2 separate regions of the Homo sapiens genome follow, and region 2 is linked to region 1. Evidence: promoter capture Hi-C in human tissues and cell types (Jung and others, 2019). All regions are on one chromosome and are shown on one strand. The core of a region is centred on a gene start or on the middle of the fragment in contact, and the rest is flanking DNA. Distances in the headings are between cores, read along the strand shown. Region 1 holds the start of CDH8 (cadherin 8). Region 2 overlaps LOC124903778 (a long non-coding RNA gene).

What was found. Contacts are between HindIII fragments. The study calls those that stand out against the background at their distance.
Region 2: a contact is called between a fragment that was not itself captured here and the fragment with the promoter of CDH8 in region 1, in 2 of the 25 tissues and cell types used here (heart left ventricle and spleen).

Annotation. Positions count from the first base shown.
Region 1 is chr16:62,032,808-62,039,160 of GRCh38, reverse strand. CDH8 (cadherin 8) reads left to right here and starts at 2,723. Exons shown (of 12, transcript NM_001796.5): 1 at 2,723-3,081. LOC124903777 (a long non-coding RNA gene) reads right to left here and starts at 2,571. Exons shown (of 2, transcript XR_007065217.1): 1 at 2,384-2,571; 2 at 1,728-1,948. RefSeq lists an enhancer at 4,421-4,922. The HindIII fragment of the contact is 11,196 bases long and covers 1-6,353 here.
Region 2 is chr16:62,124,752-62,130,676 of GRCh38, reverse strand. It overlaps LOC124903778 (a long non-coding RNA gene), which reads right to left. Exons shown (of 2, transcript XR_007065218.1): 2 at 23-1,036. Among named protein-coding and RNA genes, the nearest start is that of CDH8, 91 kb to the right of the region's middle. The HindIII fragment of the contact is 4,758 bases long and covers 1-4,150 here.

The sequences.
Region 1 (6,353 bases), core at 1,474-3,973:
GAGACTTCCTAACACTGTCTCCCTCTTCTTGAGCTCTGTTTCCTATGAACCATCTGATTCCCCACTCTGCAACTAGCTGGGCACTTGGTTTACTGTGTCCCTTGGTCAAAATTACGACAAACATTCCAGCCATAGTGAAAAAATAAAAGTGTATTTTACTACATGGAGTCCCTCTCCATCTCATTCACTCTCTACAGTAGACTCCCCTGCAAAACTGCCTGCCTGTCACCGAGACCCAGGCTAGAGACATCCTGCCTCATTCTACTTTTTGCATTAGTCAGCCAAGGTTATTCTGAATGCAATCTTCTCTCCCTCCCCCCAACTCCTTCTCCAATTATACTCCTGCCCTATCAGATAATTCCTCACCCTTCCTCCCCCGCAATGCTCCACAACACATGCAATTTCACTTGCCATTCTAAAAAGCCTATGTACCACAGTCCTCTTCCCGCTGGAAGGCTGTAACCCTGGAGAGGATGTTGAAAAGAAAACACTTTCTTAAGGGGGTAGGCTTTCACCATTGTGACATTACACTGCATCTTATTAAGAGTGGGTGGAATTGTTAAAGAGATAAATGCCTTGTCTTTCAGCATCCCTGATTATTTTAGAAATATCCTTATAGGGCTTTCTAACATTATCCTAATCCTCTATCACACTGCTTAATCATCCAAACCTCTCTTAAGAATTAGTCAGGAAATTCCTATTGTAACGCTTTGAGCAGATATTAGCAGGTATAGACAGGTTACCCTGAATTCCAGAGGACCAAAATTCAGGGAAGACAATGTATATAACTGCTGTAAGAGTAAATATGGACAAGATGAGTCAAAGCAAACTCTTCTTAACCCTAGATACCCAAAGCCATTGGATTCTGGCTCTCTTTAAAAGCCATTGGATTCTGACTATCTTTACTATGTCAGCATAGTTTGTTAAGAAAATGAGATTTGAGGATATTGTCTAACAATCTGGCTTTTTTTTTTTTTTTTGAGACAAGTTTGTTACTTGTGACAATCCCCAGCTTTCAGTAGCACATGAGTTTTTTTGAGTTTTCATAGATGTAAGAAGTTACCCCAAGGAACGGTTCAAATTATTTGTTCAAGTGAAAATGAATATCTGAAATTAAGCACAACCCAAAATGTGATCTATTTCTTTGTCCACTTGGGACTGTCTGGTCTAGCAGCAGTTATAATTTGATTGAGCCTTGACTGCTGCTCCTTTTTCCAAGACAGAATTAGCCAATTCCAATACCCTGTAAGCAGACACAGTCTGAGAAGAGAACAAACAGTTACTTAGTGACTGCCTGGGGGAAAAAAAATACCACTTGGTTCTCTTCACCTCTCCCTCTCTGAAATAATCCACTAAGTTTCTTGCCTATGACAGCTAGAACATGAAACAATCAGATATTAGAGCTACAGCCAATACTCTTTTTCACATTTCACAATGGGTTGTCAGATGCAGCACACAAAAAAATGTCAAATTTGCATAAATATCATAAGCATGTTGTGCCTATTTTCTCATTCTGTTCACTCTTTCTCATTAATTTGAGTGAGACAGTACAAGCTCTACAGACTGTGCGTCTTGTCCCCTGCACCTTTTTCCCCCTTCTGTTCTTGCTCTGTCCCCAGATGGTAAAATCCACCCTCAGGCTCACGTCTAGTGCACACAGGGAAGGGACTAAATCGGGATCTCCTGTGGAGGGGAGGGTTTTTTTTTTTAAGGTAAGAATTTATTTGTCTTATATTTATCTAATTTTATTAGAAGATGATGACTGTGGCATCGTCTACATGTTAGCCCCAGTGTTGAAAAAGAAAAGAAATCTGGACCTCCTGATTCATGGTCCCTTTTACCCCAGGGTGGCCATTTCTCAAGATCTGAGCGCAGCCCATCAGAAGACTTGAAGTGACCACAGACAGGGCAGGTCTTGGTGGAGGCAGGAGAACCGCAAGGATGGTATCTGAGAGGATATGACAAGATCAGGGCACATTGAGAAGACCTAGAAATTCCTCCCCTATTTCCCAAGCAAGTTCTGCTTTGCCTGCCCTCCTCCCCACAACCAACTACTGCGCGCCCCTCCTGGCTGCCACTCTGCTGTCCCTCATCCCATTTTCCCAAAGGAGCACGGGGACATCAGGAATGCGCTCCATCACAGAACCGCGACACACAGCCTCTACATAGCGTCTGAGTTGCAGGCAGGGGTCTCACAATCACCCTATTCTGTACGCAAGAGGCCCTTGGAATAAAGAGGAGGTAAGCTGCCCACGCTCAACCCTTTGCCCTGTCGCGTCCTCTTCCTCCTACGGAAAATAGCTGCGGGTCACTGAGACGCTTTTCAACATAACGCCAGCCCCAGAGCTCAGGTGAGACCTCTAGAGAGAAAGCTCGCAGGTACCTCATCCGCATGCTGTTATTATCTGCCAGCCCACTTATCCAGGAGCTCGGTCCTCAGCGGGCTGCGCGCACCGCGCGGAAGGGCGCATCTTCACCTCGTGGCTCTGGCGGCAGAGACGCGCGGGGCTTGCTCGGGAGCGAGGAGCGAAAAGTTGTGCGCCCACTTGGGTAGGGGGAAAGAGAGCGATCGAGCCAGCGCGGGAGAGCGAAGGGGGAAGGCGGGGAGGGGGCGGGGAGGGGGGACTGCTTACATGAATTTCCAAGTGGTAGACCTGCCTCTGCGCTCTGCCCAATGAGATCCGTCAGGGGAGGCACCCGGCTCACTTTTCCACATCACTTCACAGTTACATTTGGCAGGCAGGCGGGCTCGCACGCCGGAGCGCTCAGCCCAGAATTAGTGGATTTATTTGGAATCTCCCTGCCTCCTCCAAGCTCCGCCGCCGCCGCCGGCTTGTGCATAGACGGTAGCGTCAAGACACCAGCTGCACTTTGGGTTGCGGACACCCAGAGCCCAGCGCGCCCGCCCTGCGTCTCCGCACCAAGCCCTGTAGCTCCGAGAGGCATGAACGGAATCCGGAGGCGCCTGCCTAGCGAGCGAGGACCGGTCGGCGCTTGCCGCCCTCGGGAGCTAACCCCGAGCACCTCCAGCCATTTGTGAACCTGGAGGCTTGACATTCGCCAGCGCAGGGCCCCACAAGAGTAAGTGTTCCCCTAACCCACCCCCGTTTTCCTCTATGTTCCGACTATCCAGAAGGGACCGTTTCTTATAGGAATTCCCATGCCCCTTCGGACACCTTGCGCGCCTCCTGCCCCTCAGATGGTGGATGAGGGTTCTTAGCATAGGCTCTGGGCTAAGCTGTGTCTTTCGCGATATCCGTGGGTGATAACGTACGTACGCCTCAAGGTTTTGCCTGACTGTTTTTGCAAACTGCTTTGACAACAGATCCTAGAGAGTAGCAAGCTCCAGGCTGTGCCCCTCCAGTTTTCCTGCCGGTTTCCTTCCCTGCGGCGACTTGGCTATTTCGCCGCTTCCCAACGCAGGCAGGCGCGGCTGCAGCCGCGCGCCTTCACTGCGGGGTCCGTGCGGTGAATGGGAAGCACCTGCAGCCCGCTGTGCGGAGGGTGCAAGCCAGGGAAAAAAGGAGGCGAGGGGGCCCGAGTGGTCTATGGCTGGTTTTCTGCACCGCCTCATCTCCGAGGCGAGGGAGGGCGACCCCCGCGGCAGGGCTGCGGGCCAAGGCTCAGCTGCGAAAGCCCCAGCGCGAGGCTTTCCCACAAGTGGCAGCTCCAGCTCTGGGAGGTGCGGTGCCCGCTACAAACTTGCCGGGCTCCGGAGTCGCCCTGCGGCTCTGCCCTCGCCAAGACGCTGCCCAGCACCCCTGCAGGACCCCCAGGCAGTGTCTCCCCGCAACTCGAGATTGCGTGCACGGAGGCCCCCTTAAGCCGGGGACTCCGTAGCCGCTCTCCTAGGGACAGCTGAGCCCAGACCTGCGCTTTCTGTGGTCTGGCCGCTTCTCATCCGGGAACCTTTGAGGGGCTGGTCGCGCCCCTCGCAGGATCGGAGGGAAAAAGGCTCTTGCCTAGGTTCTGCCAGTACGTAAGAGGTTCATAAGGGACCTACTCCGGTTCTCCCAGGATCCAGCCAAGGCTGGGAAACGGTAAAAAAACGTGCTGCCGCCAACGCTGATGCCAACAGGTATCCACAATTTCCTCCGCTTATTCCTCCCAAACACCAGAGCCTTCCCCCACCCAGTCTGGCAGAATCCTCAAAGTTTCCTTGCGGTTGACCCTTCCCCCGCAGGCACGGAGCCGGCGGCATGTCAAGGACTAGCCGTTTGCCTCCACCAGCGGAGATGGCAGCTGTTTGCTTGGGTTGCTAAATGTAAGAAATCAAACCACATTAATTGTTTATTGTTGCAAACGCACAATATTAGTCCGTAATGGAAAATCGGGCTGGCAGCTGCTCACTTCAGCACCAATTAAACGATAGAGCTTATCACCAAGACAGCGGGAGGGAGGAAAGGTCCTTTCAACTTTACCACCCTTTCCTGAAGATTCCACAAGAGTTTCCTCCTTAGGAGGCATGATTCGACAATCCCTTAGCGCGCCCGAGCTGCTAATCAGATCAGCTGCTTTCTTTCACCTGGCGTCATGATATCTGGGGGCTGACAATGGGAACGAGGGGACGCTAGGGAAGGTAAGCGAGAGTACTGTCCTCTCGCATCCGGTACCATCGCAAAGCAGATCCGAGGGATGGGGGCTGGCTTTTGAAGCGCCTGTTCTCTTTACAACACTCCTGACAGCCATCTCAATGGTTAAAAACCCTCCTTGGGCTGTCACCTCAGGCTTTATTATAGGAGCTTTTCAACTGGAAAACTATATGTGGGAAAGATGTTTATGTAAGATTCGAAAGTGGGATTTTCCATCCATTCAGCCTCGCTGCTGCACCTCACTGCATGCAAAGTGAGCCCTGTCGTTCATGCTAAATACCAGTAAAATCCCTGCCTAGATATTGCTTTGCATCAGCTGTGTCCAGTGTTGCAGGGATTTCTTCGTGTGCGTGTGTGTGTGTGTGTGTGTGTGTGTTTGAGAGAGAGATATATATATGAGGTGGGGGCTGGGAGTGGGATTCTTCTACAGAGAGAAGTGGTACCTTTGAAGGATGTTCTCTTAGGGTTACATTCTTTTTCCCTTAAAGGGAGTTCTCCATAATCATCATGTCCAGACATGTTTTTCCACTTCCCCGAGCTCTGTGGCTGGAATAAATTCTAGAGCTATCCCCCTTATTAAATAATAATTCTGATAATAATATTCTGTAATTCTGCTTTAGCAGATTTGAAGCTCGCTGTCACATAGTCATTTCATGCTGGAGCAGTCACAGTATTTTAAATCGCCTTTGATTTTTTTTTTTCTGGACTCTGAAGAAGGCGAGGAGTTGAGGAAAATCCCTCTGAAAACAGAGAGGGGAGTCTTTCCAGCAACTCCGGGGACTGCTTCATTCAGAGCCCTTCCGTGGCAGTTCACCTTCCTCATTCTGATCCCCACACTCCCCAAGTGAATGTCAAGTTATCCCCTGACCATCGCAAATAGGCCAAATGTTTTAGAGACACTGGCTAATGTGCTCTGAAACTTGTGCTGTAATGCTGTCATTCAAACTTTTTAATCTATTCTCCCTGCAAATTGGTTCTTACATTACTAATTATTATTACTGTTAGAAATCAGTGCTTCTGCTTTATCATTTACAGTCTCTTAAAGCCTTCAAGATGGGTAAATCTCTACATTCAAGACTCTGTAACATTTCTTGGCTGCATTTCTGGTGTGTAGGATGCATTTCTTGAGTTCTTGAAGCTGCATGAATTTAGCTAAAAGAACAGAAAATTTGATAGCAGTCTTCACTAGAATAGCAGTTCCATTTGCCTGCTGTAGACATGTCAACTCTGAAGGGAAGGAATTCCTTACACTGGAAAACAACTTTATTTGGGTATTATGTAGAACTGTGGTCAACACAGTATTCATTTATAGCAATCCCTCAATTAGCACTGAACACAATTTAAGTAGCCAATGGCAGCATGATCGATGTAAAACAAAACAAACAAACAGCCCAGGAATGCTCAGCTGGATGGAGAAGACCACTTGAGAAGGCATTTGTAAAGACTGATGTGAATGTACTCAAAGGTCTGATACTGCTTGTTAGTCAGGAGGAACAGATTGTTGGAACAAAGCACAGAAACTCCAAAGAATGAGAATATAATGATTCTATTCAAGAAATTGTACCTCTGGGCTTTGCTTTCCAGGTTCCTTTCATTGTTTATTGGTGGGGAAAAAGAACATGCACATATTAAAAAGTTCAAACCCACACTTCAACAGCTGTTCAGAAAACGTCATCAATGTAGGTAAATTAATGCTTTAAAGAAAAAAATGACAATCTTTGTTATTTTTCTACTCAAGGTGGCACACCTCACGGCTTTATC
Region 2 (5,925 bases), core at 522-3,021, 92 kb before region 1:
AAAACCGACTTGGAGGCAAAGATTTGCATGCAGGGAATTTATTCCCGAGTTGTTTGGGAAAGAACACCAGTGAAGAAAGGAAGGCAGCAGAATTAGGCAAGGGCAAGCTGAACTATGATGCCATTACAATAAAGACTACAGCTGGTTCTAGAACTGGGAGGACCCATCAGAGCTGCCCCAAACTGAGACATGATGACTGGGTATCTGTACTCCCACATAGACTACGTTTTGGATTTTAATTTGAACCCAGACAGGGAGCATACACTTGGGCCCAGTCAAGGTTAATTCCTGGTAAGGAACTCAGTCATGAGTCATCAGCCGTCCACACTCTGATTCTCAGCAGGTGGGGGAATGAGTAGTTTGGCCATCAATGGAGGAATCGGTCCATACACTACAGCATCCACTAGAGAAAACAATTCTGCAACTAATCCCCCGGAGACATCCCTTCAGCTCTGCATGGATTCTTGTTTGCAGCTTGGCTCTCTGTGAGGGCTTATAAACTTTTCAGTAAGTCAGTTTCTTTTCCTTTATTTCTTCCAGTTTATTTTGGAGGTTATAACTCAACTGCTTATGCAGACTTTAATAAATGCATTTCCAGCTCTTCACAAGAGAAGCCCATATTAAATATTAGATGGATGAACTGTTCACCTCTTTACTTAGACTGGGTAAGTGAAGCTGTCTCTTTATTCCTCTGCCCTTTTCCCTATGTCTCTCCCACTAGGGAAACTTTTGCCAACATCAAAGTGTAGCCTAACTGTGGAAAGCTGACTTAGCCATAAGGATTTCTCATTCCTGTGATACATGTGATCTTTTCCTTTTACTGTCACTTAATTCTGCTCCCTGGACTTGCCTCTAAGGTGTCAAGAGAGAAGCAACTCTCTGCACTTCAAGGACGATGTTTCTTTCTTCTCAAATTATCACTTAACAGACGGGATGATTCTTCTCAGACCTTTTCAAATTTCCCAATGGGCTTCCAAATACAGGGCAAAGCACAGGCGATGTCTAGCAGGTTCCTGGCACTCCTATGTGCATATTACTAGAAGGAAAATGCAAACAATTATTGCTAATTAAAGATATCTGAGAAATGAGTTAAGATACATTATCACTGATATTACTATAGGTTCATAACCCTTTTGTTTTTAAAGCCATTTTATTGAATATTTATTAAAAGCTTCAACATTGGAGTCAAACAGTGCGGCTTCCAATTTTACCTCCTCCAACCCTTGCCTGTGTTATTCTGAGCAGGTTGGTTAAACACAGTGAGCCTCTGATACACCATTTGTCAAAGGGGGGTTATAATAAGCAGCACTGTTGTTAGCGTTCTGCCCAATCCTCTCTTCTGTAACAGCAAACCCCTCCCCCTACTGCGGGTTCTGACTTGTCCTTGTACACACATGCATGGTTCACCAAAGAATTTACCTTGGCTGATGAGGTCCCCCTGAAGTGCCTGGGAGGTTATGTACCCTCAACTCAGGCCAGCAATTGACTCCGAGATGAGCACGTGTCCTAATTCTGACCAAAGAATTTGGAAAATGAAAAGTGTTCTACTAAGAAAAGGGAATTTTTTTCTCATTAAGAAGAGACAATATTTTCCACCCTCTCTATGTTGCTGTGTTTCCATGTATTTCATGAAACAACTGCAGTTATCCATAAATCATATTGAACAACACAAAGTTGTCAGAGCTCACACAAAGCAAAACAAAACAAAACTAAACTAAGATTCTTGATGATACATATGATTGCCCAAATTACACATTCTGGTGTCTTCTCTACCTCTGGACTTGCTATTACGTTAGTTACACATGTCATCATTATTTATTGAGTTGATTCAAGGTTTTTCTTGCAGTCAAAAGCAAACTAACATATATACTGTGTGTGTGTATGTGTAGGGAGGTGGAGAGGAGAGAAGAAGGAAAAAAAAGAAGAAGGAGGAGAGGAGGTTCAGCAGGAGGAGGAGGAGGAGGATGAGGAGGAGCAGCAGGAGGAGGAGGGAATGGGAGAAATGAAAGGAGTGAGAATATGTGTCCTGGTGTCCAACTTGATTCCCTAGGTCTGGTCCCTGCACATATTTTCCCAATATATCACCCAGCTTTCACTTCTACTTGGACTTGATTGAATTGTTAAAGGGAACCTGAAAGATAAATATTGATTAATTCATCTTCAAAGTTCTTGGAACAGTTACAGTGCAATAAACACTCAATGGCTATTAGCTATTTATAGCATTCCCAATTATCAAGATAATCATTATGTTCTTTTATCTTATCACTCCTTATGAAGCTGAAGTAGTGGTTCCTAAAACTAGTTTCACATTAATGTCAGCTATAAAGCTTTTAAAAATTAATGCAGTCCAAATTTTCCACTTTTAATATAATGGGGTAACTGATTCAGGTCTTTAATTGAAACAAGGAAACTAGACAAAATTCATGAAACAAATTTTGTCAGACATTGTAGAACAGACAGCATAGGATTATTATACCTGAGAGACAGGAAATAAATGAAGTGAACCTTACAGTTTCCCCAGCTTTCAGCCTGGAAAACTTTTTAGATCCAGTACAGGGAGGAGGAACCCCAGCATCGCTAGGCAATATTCTTGGGATTTGGAGGCAAATATCAGATTTAAGGTAGGCTAAGGCAGATTTTTAATGCAGAATACTGGAAAGGATAGAGTTATGCAGAAAGAGAGCTACAGAAATTTGCAAAATGTTTTATGAATATGTTATTCAATACAAAGGTGCATATGTGTAGGGGATAATTTTGTAAACCCAGGCAAAGGTACGCTATCAGAAAGCTAAAATATAAACAATTCCCAGAGCTCACATAAGGCTGTGAGTCTTTTTACTTCTGACTAGTCAGAGTAGAGTTGGCTCCTTGTACATCTAGGGTATCCAGTAGGCACCAGATGAGTCACACCTTAGTAGCAGGGCAAAACTGTCTCCAGAATAAGAAATATGGTAGACAAACACTAACAATATTTAAACACAAGCAAACCTAGGAAGTCTCAAACTGCTCCAAAAAACAATATTCAACGTGTTTAAAGGAAGACAACACAATCCAGACCCTCATCAATGTGAGTCACTATGCCCAATGCCCACTAAAAAATTATTAGGCAGGTAATTCCAGGTAGCTGTTATGACTGTTTGTGTTTCCCCCAAATTTATATGTTGGACTCTAATCCCCAATGGGATGGCATCCAGAGTTGGAGCCTTTGGAATGTAATTAGGTCATGAGGGTGGAGCCCTCATGGATGGGATTAATGCCCCTATAAGAAGATATCAGAGAACTACTTGCTTGCCCTCTTTGTGCCGTGTAAAGATACAAGAAGTCGGCTGTCTGCAACTGGAAGAGAACCTTCACCAGCATGAATGATGCGGACATCCTGAGCTGAGGCTTCCAGCCTCCAAAACTGTGAGAAATAAGTGGTTTTTGCCTAAGCTAGCCAGCCTATGGTAATTTGTTATGGCAGCTGAAACTGACTAAGATATTGCCAAGGCAATATCAGGCTTGTAAATTTAATGTACCCAACCAGGGCAGTAACAGAAGCAGTAAAGAACTACAAGAATAAATAAAACTACAGAAATCCAAGCTGCCCACATAACATTAAGAGAGTGAACAGCTAAAATGTAATTGCCTGTAGGTAGAACAATAATGCCCAATTCTTGCCAGCTTTCTCTGTTTCTGGCCAGAAGAATTTGAAAACGCAAGTAAAGTTTGAAAAAAAAAAAAACTGTTGAAGAGAAAAGCGAAGAGGTATCTTTGGGTCTTTAATTTTTTCCTAAAGCCATATTATATAGAGAAAGTCTACCTTCTGTGTGAAAATGATGAAAAAGCATATAAGTAGATCAAAGCACTGAATATAGGAAAAAGGCTAAAAAGGGCTTTGTGGGCAGAAATGGGTGAAAAGAAAAGGAGAGTCACCCTTTGAAAACTGCATAGGAAAGAAAGAAAAGCAAGAAGAGAAAGTTCAGGATGTTGCAAGATAAAATAGAGTAAAAGGTATCAAAGAAAACACAACCTCTCCCCCAGCCCCTCCCTCTCCTCCCAAACTGGAAGGAAACGTACTTTGCTACTCTGACGATAGAGGGCACTCTTGAACTAGGAATCTTACAAACCATTCCAAAACTGTCTGACCATAGAAACGCAGAGTGAACAGTGTCTACTGGAGGGGGTTCGTCAGGGTCTCTCTCTCTCTCTCTCTCTCTCTCTCTCTCTCTCTCTCTCTCTCTCTCTCTCATATATATATATATACTGAATATATATATATATACTGAATATATATATATACTGAATATATATATACTGAATATATATATACTGAATATATATATATACACTGAATGTGTGTATACATATATATATATACTGAATACATATATATATACTGAATTTATACAGAGAGACAGTCTATATATTTAAATACCTGAAATATAACATTCAAACCTGAAATAAATATATTCAAGTAAGTATTGGGAGATGTGAGAAGATAATTTGAGGTGTGTGTGTGTGTGTGTGTTTGAGACAGGGTCTCACTCTGCCACCCATGCTAGAATGCAGTGGCAGGATCACAGCTCACTGCAGCCTCGAACTCCCCGGGCTCAGGCGATCCTCCCACCTCAGCCTCTCGAGTAGCTGGGACCATAGGCGCCCGTCATCATGCTTGGCTATTTTTCTTCTTATTATTATTTGTAGAAACAGGGTCCCACTATGTTGCTCAGGTTGCTCTCAAACTCTTAGTCCCAAGCAATCCTCCTGCCTTGGCCTCCCATAGTGCTGGGGTTACAGGTGTGAGCCACCAAGCATGGACTGAGAAGACAATTTGCATCAGAACTTCAAAAAGCAAAAATAGAAATGGACAAAAAAAGGAAGAAATAAAATATAAATTGATTGATTCCTGGAAGAAAACAGAAAAAAAAAGACAAAGTCATATTAGAAATTACAACTAACTTATGCAGTACTTAAGGTAAAAAGAAATTTGAATGAAAACATTAAAAAGGCACTGAAGTAGACAGGAAAACAATGCATTGAAAATGTGGTAAGTAAATTAAAATGATGTAAGAAAAAATGTTTGAAATTGAAGACAAAGAAAAAATAACATCTGTATATTTAGAGTCCCTGAGGAAGCTAAGATAAAAAACAAAACGATTAAAATGATTATACAAGACCACTTTCCAGAAATAAAAGAAAATTTGTATCAACATATTTATAGGGTCTGTGGGGTGCCTGTAAAAATTGACCTGCAATGATAAACTCTATGATATATACAAGTAAAGATCATAGTCTGTAGAGATTTTTAGACCATCCTTAGGACCTTCAGCAGAAAGATAAAATATTTCACAAGGGAAAAAGAGTGATTGGCCTTAGACCAAAATACAAAACGAGGCAAAGAGGAGAAGCATTTTCAATCAATGCTGGGAAAGAAAGCCTGAAATAAAGCTGGCATTACATTTTTTTTTCCTTCAGTTTGTTATCAACAGAACTGTCCATCAAGTATCAAGGCTATTTACAAAAATGTTAGACAAAAGAACTCGAAGAATTCTGAAACCGTGAGCCCTCCTTGAAAAGTCTACTAGAACACAAACTGTATCCAACCAAAAGATGCCTGGGGAAACTGAGCAAAGGATTAATAAAGAGCAAAGTTTATTAATATACAAATTGATATTCACATTTGATCTTAGTTATTGCATTTGTAAGAGATTAAGGTGGGCAGGGAGTAAAAGAATAATATGCTATATGATATATAGTTTATCCATTTTATATTCTGACCAAGTAGAAATCATGCCACTGAAAAATGGAAAGAGAAAAGTAAAGAAGAATGGAAAGTAGACTAAATGATTTGGCTATTTTATAAGAAATAAATGTGAGTTAAAGGATGTCACAGATAAATGACAAACCAAATGGAAATATTTTGAACATGAAAATAGGGGATAA